Linked DNA regions of Homo sapiens: region 1 is linked to region 2. Evidence: promoter capture Hi-C in human tissues and cell types (Jung and others, 2019). All regions are on one chromosome and are shown on one strand. The core of a region is centred on a gene start or on the middle of the fragment in contact, and the rest is flanking DNA. Distances in the headings are between cores, read along the strand shown. Region 1 overlaps SUPT20H (SPT20 homolog, SAGA complex component). Region 2 holds the start of POSTN (periostin).

Region 1 (5,067 bases), core at 522-3,021, 580 kb after region 2:
TTTTTGTACATTGACTTTTTTTCTAAACAATGTATATCTATATGTATCAGCACTTGAAATTCTGAGGTCTGTTTAGATTCTTCTAAGGGTGTGGTTATTATTGCTACCTTTGTATGATCAAGCGGATAAAGAGAAAGAATCAGTATCCTATATACCACACTTTGGCTCCAGTAGCCCTGCCTAATTAAGAACTAGCTGTGCTAGTGGGGAGAATTTGCACCTACCAAGGAGGATACTTCCCTACAATAATAATAGTGGATGTATTTAGAAAATAATTGCTTTCCCAACAGATGTTTTATGTATACATATATGTAATACTGGTTTTTTTTTGTGCTTGAAGGAGATTTAAAAAATAGGTATGTGGGCCGTACATGGTTGCTCACACCTAGAATCCCACCACTTTGGGAGACCCAGGTGGGTGGATTGCTTGAGCTCAGGAGTTCGAGACCAGCCTGAGCAATATGGTAAAACCCCATCACTACAAAAAGTTAGCCAAGCGTGGTAGCATGCACCTGTAATCCCTGCTACTCAAGAGGCTGAGGTCGGAGGATCACTTGAGCCCAGGAAGTCGAGGCTGCAGTGAGCTGACATTGTGCCACTGCATTCCAGCCTAGGCAACAGAGTAAGATCCTGCCTCAAAAGAAAAACAAGGGGGGTGAATTTACAACATTCCTCGTGTTATGCTAGGTCCTCTAATTTAAAGAAGGAGTAAGCTTTAAGCTAGTAGTTTGGAAAATGGATAGACGTGACTATAAAGATCTGGATATGTAACATAGTAGAGCTATGGATTGATGGGAAATAACAATAACAGATCAGCCACCCTGGTATTCAGGATTAACAAATCGGGAAATTCTCATTAGAGCTAAAATTTAAAACTTGTTTCCTATATACGATGCAGTATGTTTACAGACTAATTGCAGAACAATATACTTATAATATGGGCAAGCCCACAAATTGCATTTGTTTATTTAGCCTACCTTCCGGCATATTGCTTTTGAAATTTTCTTAGGGATCAGTCTCAGTGTTAACAGGAATGGAAATCCTTTAGTTTGTTATATTTTTCTACATTTACTGTATACTGATTGAGGAAGGAACATTTGATCTGTGCTGTGTCTAGATTTACCTAATGATGAGCTGTGATGGATATAGATAGATACTTTGACCCAAGGATTTTTTATTTTTTTTTTATTATTATTTTTTTGACTATACAGACCTAAGAGTTCTGTATTTGGTATTGTCTTGGACATTCTCCTAAGGACCTCAAAGTGGTCCGTATATAAACCCCTATAGCTTAAAATGGAAAAACTGTTTGTTTTTTGGTGCATTTGAAAAGCATTGTTTTCCCTTTTAACCTGGAGTTTTCTGAGTGCTTCTTTAAAAATTGTTTTTTAATTTGGATTAAATTCAAATTAGATTTGAATGAAAGAGAAAGTAGTGGTCTACAGAATAAATATGGACATCTAAATGCACTTTCTTTTCAGCTTTGAAATTCCTCACTGTGTTATACAAAAGATCTTGTATAATATTTGTGTTTTTGGCAAAACTAGAACAAATTTATGAGGGGTGGCTTTTCGTAGTATACATTTCTGATTCATAAGCTGCTTGTTTGTACTTTCTAATGTATTTAGTGCTCTTTTGTATTGATGTATAAAAAGAGTGAAATGAAAAATAGCATGTGAATTGGAATAGCTAACTACTAGCTTGAAGCAGAAAAATTTATGTTTAAGAGTATTAGCATACTTGGGAGCCCAAAGTAATAGGACTTAAAAACAGTTTCTAAATAGGTCTTTTTTTTAAGGGCAGCCAACTTGTTTTTTCTTTACCTGTTTCTTCAATAACTAGAAGAGTGACACATAGCAAATGATCCAAAAATATTTGTAGAATAAATTTAAATATTTGATATAAAATCATGTGAAATTGGTTAATTTTTGTTTAAATTCTTAATAGCTTCCAGGTGGTTCACTTATTTTTAACACTCTGCAGCAGCAGCAACAGCAGCTCTCCCAGTTTACACCACAACAACCTCAGCAGCCCACAACTTGTAGTCCTCAACAGCCAGGGGAGCAGGTATGGATTTTCTAGCCTTCCATATGCTTTTACATCGAATTTATAACATTTTTTGGTATATTCCAAGCATACTTCATTTGCTTTGTTAGTGTAAACATTTCCTGTACTGTTTTTATTAACAATAGTAGCAATCAGCTATTGGGTGTGTATTCCTAATAAAACAGTCATACCATACTGAATAGATGGTATCACCTGCATCTTGCATAGATGATTGAGATCCAGATAAATGGCTTGCTCTTAGCCATACAGTGAGTGGCAGAGCCAGAGATTCAAACCTAGGTCTTTGTGCCCCTATCACTCATGTATTTTCTACCCCATCATTATCTTTCTGTTTTTAGGATTTTGTTGCTATTGGAATAAAGATATCCCTATTATCATAAAATGTAGGGCAGTGGGAACACAGACAAAAACAAATGTGTACACTGCCAAAGGGAAAGAAATTGAATAAGAATTGCAATAAATGACAGTAGAAGAAGGAAGTACAAGTGTTTCTAAACTTTGGGTACACTGGAGTCATCTGGGAAATTAAAAAAATATTGATTCCTGAGTCCCAAATCCAGAGTTTCTCTATCTCACAAATTATATGAAATATTCACCATTAGTCCTTTTGCCCAGTTTCCCCCAGTCAGGTCTTGGTTGGATAAAGCTCATCCTCTAATAGAGTCCTCAGGAAGGGCACATTAAAAACTTACTGTTTTTTCATTCTAAACACATTAAAGATTGCTTGGCTAGATATAAAATCTTTGATTTTCTTTTAAAAAAATTAATTTTAAGGTACACATAAAATTTACCATTTTAACTTTTTTTTTTTTTTTGAGACAGAGTCTCGCGCTGTTGCCCAGGCTGGAGTGCAATGGCACAATCTTGGCTCACTGCAACCTCCACCTCCTGGGTTGAAGCGATTCTCCTGCCTCAGCCTCCCGAGTAGCTGTCGCTACAGACATGTGCCACCACGCCCGACTAATTTTTTTTTTGTATTTTTAGTAGAGACGGAGTTTCACCATGTTAGGATAGTCTTGATCTCCTGACCTCGTGATCCGCCCACCTCAGCCTCCCAGACTGCTGGGATTACAGGCATGAGCCACCGTGCCTGGCCAAAACTTACCATTTTAACTTCTTAAGTGTGCAATTCAGCAGTGTTAAGTGTATTCACATTGTTATGCAACAGATTTCTATTATAGAACTTTTTCATCTTGCAAAACTGAAACTATATCTGGTAAATAACAACTCCTCCCCTCGGCCACTATTCTACTTTATGTTAGTATGAGTTTGACTATTCAAGATACCTCATATAAGTGCAGTTATATAGTTATTTGTCCTTTTGTGTTTGACTTATGTCACTTGGCATAAAGTCTTCAAGGGTCATTCATTTTATAGCATGTGTCAGAATCACCTTCCTTTTTCATGGTGAATAATACTTGTATATACCATATTTTGTTTATCCATTCATCCACTGATGGATACTTGGGTATCTTCCACCTTTCGGCTATTGTAAATAATGCTAGTGTGAGTGTGAGTGTACAATTATCTCTTTGAGACCCTGTCTTCAACTCTTCTGGATATATACCCAGAAGTTGGATTGCTGGTTCATGTGGTAATTTTTAATTTTTTAAGAAGCATCATACTGTTTTCCATAGTGGCTGTACCATTTTACCTAATTCCCATCAACAACATACAGAGATCTCGATTTGTCCAAATCCTCGCCAACTCTTGTTATTTTCTGGTGGTGGTTGGGTCTTTAGGGAATTTTTTTTTTTTTTTTTTAAGCAGCCTTCCTAATGGGTGTGAGGTGATAATCCCATTGTGGTTTTGATTGGCATTTCCTTAATGACTAGTGGTGTGGAGCATCTTTTCATATGCATGTTGGCCATTTGTGTACCATCTTTGGAGAAAAGTCTGTTTGGGTCCCTTGCCCATTTTTTTTTTTTCAGATTAATTTTTGTTGTTGAATTGTAGGAGTTCTTCATTCTTCATATACACATATATCAGATGTTTGATTTCCAGATATTTTCTCCCATTTGTTGTCTTTTCACTCTTGATTGCATCCATTGCACAGAAGTTTTTTTTTTTTTTATTTTAATGTAGTTCATTTTCTCTTTTTACTTTTCTTGCCTGTGCTTTTGGTATCATATTGAAGATCATTGCCAAATCCAATGTCCTGAAGCATTTTCACTTGTTTTCTTATAAATGTTCTCTAGTTTTAGGTCTCCTTTAAATTTATTAAGAACTCTTCCTACTGTTGACTTGCTTTATATGTTTTTGAGAAATCTGATGCCAGTCTAATTATCTTGCTCTTGTAAGTTTATTTAAGCAGTTTGCCTAGAGGCCCTGAATGCTTGTCTAATATTTTCACTGGTGTGTGTGTCAGAATTGATTTTTCCATGTTTTTCCTGTGGATCCTTTTAATGTGTAGAGTCACTTCTTTATTTCTGGAATGTTTTCTTGGATGATAGTTTGTAGTTTCGTAAGTGGAAGCTTAGATTATTGTGTTGAGGTCATTCTTTTCTAAAATAAACAATTAATGTTACACATTTCCTTCTCAGTACTGCTTAAGCCACTTTCCACAAATTTTGATATGCTGTGCCTTCATTTTGTTCCACAGAATTTTCTTATGGATTCCTCTTAAATCAGTTATTTAGATATGTTTGATTTCCAAATACTTGGGAATTTTCCAAATATCTTTCTGCAGTTGATTTCTAGTTTAAATCCACTGTGATCTGAAAACATATTTTTGGTTCTTTTAAGTTTGTTGAGGTTTGTTTAATGCTTGAGAACGTGATCTGTCTTGATGAATACTCCATATATGGCTGAAAAAATGTATATTCTGCTGTTAGGAGTGTTCCATATTAGATCAAGGTATTTGATGGCATCATTCAGGTCTTCTATATCCTTTTCTTTCTGTATGTTTTATCAGTTACTGAGAGAAGTGTTGAAGTCTTCAACCAAAACTGAAAATTTCTATTTTTCCTTTTGCTAAAGGTTGTTTTTTGAGCCCATATT
Region 2 (4,999 bases), core at 1,827-4,326:
CTTGTTACAAAGATCCACTAGATAATTTGCAAACTGACAATACATTAGCATCCCGACAGCTAGAAACAAATGATCCTCTCTTTCAGTCACATTATTTTTCTTCAGTTACATAGTAAACCATTTAGTTTTCATGAATGACTTATATTTCTGGGTCACATTTTGCAACCCTGAAAGTCAGACTTAATTATCATCATTTCAATTTTCCTCCCATCTCCCAGGAAAATTACATGGACAACCCCAGGGTCACTGTCTTTTTCTGATGCAGAAGAATAAGGGTCCTGTGTGAAGAGAGACGGTGGGGGGCAGGGAAGAGAGAGAGAAAATTTGACCCTTGATGAGTGCTCAGAAAGGGAAGAATTATGTTCCTTGCAAGATTCTCAATATCTTCTCTAAAACTTGGACTACTCTTTCTTCCATTATCTTTCTTACAACTGTTTCCTTCCCTTATCCTACCGAAAACTTGCTGAGACTTCCTCCCACTATTAGGCATATAATATCACACTTCTGGCCTGGCCTTAGCTTTTTAAGTTCCAGTGCTATAATCTTTTTATGTTTACCCTAATTTTTTCCTTCTCTTGGGATATTCCCCAACATCTAAATTTGCAGGTAGTTTGTATGCACACCTGGCTTGCATTGTCAAGATCTTTCGTGATGTCATTACTAATCCTAACTTTAAATACTGAGGGCTGCTATTTGTTGATTTTCATGGGACTTACACAAGTTCCAGAAATAATGCTCAGGATGGATAGACTTATGGTCTCTATTATTTGAAGTGTGAAAAGAAAGATTTAAGACCTCTCTTTTAATTGTATGAGCATATATCATGCTTTCCACAAAAAAGCATAAATTAATCTCACCTGTCAGAAGGGAGAAGTAATCTTTTGAAATATGACTGCATTTCCATCTTCACTACTCATTTCATGTAATTATTTGTCAATTTAGACAACTGCAAGAGCCACGATGAATGGAAGCCATTAATACTAGTGCATAAAACTGGTTGCAAAGAACGACTAGGTTAAAATTGTTCTTGAAAATAATCAATAAAATTTTAATTCGTTCCAGGCAATATTAAGAAAGCAGGCAACATGGCAGGAAATTTTGATTCTTCCTTCACTCCTTGTATTCACAATCAGGTCTATCAGTTATCATTCCGGACTGTATTTAAAAATATATATTTTTTTACCCTTGATACTTATTACACAAGTCTATATCTCTTTCTCTGAGTACCTCATCCTTCACCTCCAGTCAAACCCTATTGGATTTGAGCAGATATCAGCTTCATTACAAAAAGGTCTGTAAGTAGTTACATCAGTCTAAAGATGAAAAGTGTGGCATTAGTAGCAGTGTAATCTATATTATAATGTCTAACTGGTCTAGAGTTGAAGACTTTTATATATCCATTTAACCAGGAATGTCCTAACAGCTAATTTAATAATATTGATAGTTTATCCGTCCTAATCAATAAGCAGTTACTGACCACCTGCCATTTGCACAACATAAGAGTAATAGAAAGCTATAATATAAAGCAAAAGATGACTTCATAAAGTCAGAATGATTCCATTCAGAGAAATGTAAATGATAGACTAAACTCTTCCTTCCACAAAGGACCAGGGTCAGAATATAATTTAACTTTTATGCTATCTCCTCTCCAGCTCTTCTTTTGAATTGCCCCTTCATTTTCTATAACTTAATCCCAAGATTTTCATATTGAAATGGCCTCTCGATCATATTTCAGCATTTGTGGTTTCACTGTGTGCTTTCTTAATAAACTAAGCAGCAAGTTGTAGAATATTTTAATATCCCATAGTGAGTTTAAGCATAACTCAGGATACTCAGAATCCTCTCTAGTTCAGTCCAGTTCCCCTAAAGCCTTCCCAATAGAACAACAAGGAGAATTCTGACAAAATCTCTCTACCTCACCAGTGGGAAAAGAACATGGATATGACATTACAGAGGGAGCATCTTGTAGCAAAATGGATTGGAATTACACTTTAGGATGGTGTGCAGCTTGTTTATTCAAGGAAGCTGATTGTGGTTACCATTTCAGCTCATTGTTTCCCTCTGATATTCAGATTTCTTTTATCCAAAGTTTTCTGAACATTTGACATATGCATGGAGTAGTAAGAACGCACATTCCTTTGGCTAGGGATTGCATAGTGTAACATTGAAAGGCTTTAGTTATTCTTGATAAAATCAGAAGAATCATTTTGGCAATGTCCATGTTTCCTAATATGTATTTAATTGTTCTAGTTATCTCTAGATTCGTAACACTTGCTTCCAATATTGGCTGCTTTTCACCAGTGGTTATCAGTAGATGTGCTGCATAGACATGTTCAACATCACATAAAGTGTGTCATGAAAAACAATAAAGCACAAATGTTTTTCCTTTCTGCTTCATTTCAAACCTTAGAGAAATTTGTCAGAGTAGATTTATGTTAACTCTATATGTTCCTTGATATTTGAAAAAGAAAGGAAATGAGAGGTAGCTCTCCTTTTTGTACGATAGCAAGGAAAATATGGACTCTCCTACATGGTTCTTCAGCAAGTTAGAATTCTTATTTCATATCTTACACAAGTTTTAAATCTATCCAGAGTTTGTTTTTAATCAACAGCCTTTACCCCCTTGTGATTGTCAGACTCGCATCTACCTTTGTTTTCTGGTAAAAATAATAATAATAATAATCTTTCAGTTCTGATGTGAACTGCAATAACACCTAACAATAATCTTGAGCACACAGACATTATACATTCTACTCTGGAAAGGATTGCAGAATATCTCTTAAAACTCAACAAAAGAATTTTTCTTAAAAACCCTCTAAGATACAAAGGAATAAAACTGAGACTTAAACATGCAGTGAGTCAATTGTTCATATGATTAAAAATAAGTACCTTCTTTATAATGAAAAGGAAAAGTAGCTCAATGTGTTCCTTAAATATAACTAACCAAAACAAATCTTAGCTGGCAATTTGAAGTTGCCGATGCTTCCTGGAAAGAGTTCAGACTCTCAGGTTGATGCAGTGTTCCCTCCCACAACTCTGACATGTATATAAATTCTGAGCTCTCCAAAGCCCACTGCCAGTTCTCTTCGGGGACTAACTGCAACGGAGAGACTCAAGATGATTCCCTTTTTACCCATGTTTTCTCTACTATTGCTGCTTATTGTTAACCCTATAAACGCCAACAATCATTATGACAAGATCTTGGCTCATAGTCGTATCAGGGGTCGGGACCAAGGGTAAGTGAGTGGTTTGGTTTTATAAACCATTTTTCTTTTTCCTCAGCTTGTTAGATGTTCAAGTATGCATAAAGTTTCTCATATATGCCTCAGGGTTTTTTTTCCTAATTATTATAAAGTAATAGGAAAAAAAGGAAAATGTGAGTATTCTGTGATTTATCTATGCACTTTTAAGCTTTAAGACTTAATTGCTCTCTAAATACCTTGAATATAATTGCTTTCTTATGAAATGTTATATAATTCTAATCTAATTAACACAATTTAGCTGGGCATTCTTTTATAATTCCATTTATTTATGTTTTTATTTTCTTCCAAAAATCTGAAATTGAGTTTTCAAAATTAAAAAATCTATTGTTAGGAACTATCATATGTATGCAAACAGCATTGAAATATCTCACATGATGTTAGAGAAAATTTTATTTAAATTACATATGAAGGTTAAATACTGGGTAATGTAACTAGTTCTCTGAATTCTTTGAAGCATTTAAGTTACTTTTAAACTCTGAATTCTGTAAAATTTGCAAAGGTAATTTATATTTTATAGAACTAATGCAACTACAACTAAGCATTTTTAAAATTACACATAATTTTGTAACTTATCCAACCATTTATAATTTTTTAAGCGGATCTTGGCACTTCTTCCTATGCCTCACAGGAATTTTCATAATGTTCACAAGCTTCTTTGACTTACAGTGAAAAAAGACTTCTGTCCCTTTAAGAGGGGAAGGGGAACCTTAAAATTGTGACAGAGGATGTTCTGATCTGTTACTTCCATTCAAAAAGATAAATTCTCCTTTGTGCAACCATATTGTTTCAAAGTTAATTTTAGCACATTTACTTCTGTGATTACTTACCTAGAAAATTACAGAGTATAGTGTCTGTGTACATAATAAACCTTGTCTCTTTTGCTCTCTGACCTCTCATTGTTCCAGAGAGCCCTGAAGTTATGGCCATCCTCCAAATGAGCACATGCTTGGTTTAAAAAGGGTCAGTAGATTATCTACCATTAAAAGTAATAAGGCACATAGAAATAAAATTACGTTCATACTGTTTGAATAGTCCTAGTTGGTTAACTTTTTGAAAAGCTTGTATTTTACTCTCAGAAATGTATAATTTTTCTCTCTCTCCCTGCCACCTCCTGTAGACTTTCGGTTTTTCAACAATTCAGTAGGATTGTGTCAATAATTAGATTTGTGCAAGGCTAGAATCATGTCTTTGGATATCAAATCCACATCTCAACATTTTCTTCTATCAACCAATCTTTAGATACGAAAAACTAGTCATTATTAGGACATTAACTTTTTTCCTTTCCCTCTATCCTCCAGCCCAAATGTCTGTGCCCTTCAACAGATTTTGGGCACCAAAAAGAAATACTTCAGCACTTGTAAGAACTGGTATAAAAAGTCCATCTGTGGACAGAAAACGTAAGTCTCTTTTTTTTTTCATAATATGTCAGTTCCAAAAACAACATCATGATGTATATGCCTTCCCCTGGGTGTACACACCATTCTTCTTGAAAATACTGACCAAAATTGTGAGAGTTATTTAAAGAAAAGAAAGGAATACATACGTGAATAAAGAAGTTCTCCCTGCATCTCCAATATTACTATTAGAACTCAGATTTCTTCCTGAATCCATGTGACATGGAGGCCAGAAGGAAGCAGATCACATGGCTCAGGATTGGGTATAGAATCCGTGTGAGTAAATGATGTTGTTTCTACTCCTGGTTTGGCCCTCTTTTATCTTAGGCAAGTCACTTAACC

Evidence for each region. The method cuts DNA at HindIII sites, captures the fragments that hold promoters and counts their contacts. A contact is called where the count stands out against the background at its distance.
Region 1: a fragment that was not itself captured here is called in contact with the fragment with the promoter of POSTN in region 2 in 1 of the 25 tissues and cell types used here (dorsolateral prefrontal cortex).

The regions. Positions count from the first base shown.
Region 1 is chr13:37,014,245-37,019,311 of GRCh38, reverse strand. It overlaps SUPT20H (SPT20 homolog, SAGA complex component), which reads left to right. Exons shown (of 26, transcript NM_001014286.3): 23 at 1,948-2,067. Among named protein-coding and RNA genes, the nearest start is that of EXOSC8, 16 kb to the right of the region's middle. The HindIII fragment of the contact is 7,415 bases long and covers 1-5,067 here.
Region 2 is chr13:37,596,845-37,601,843 of GRCh38, reverse strand. POSTN (periostin) reads left to right here and starts at 3,076. Exons shown (of 23, transcript NM_006475.3): 1 at 3,076-3,236; 2 at 4,562-4,660. The coding sequence starts at 3,118. The HindIII fragment of the contact is 6,079 bases long and covers 1-3,662 here.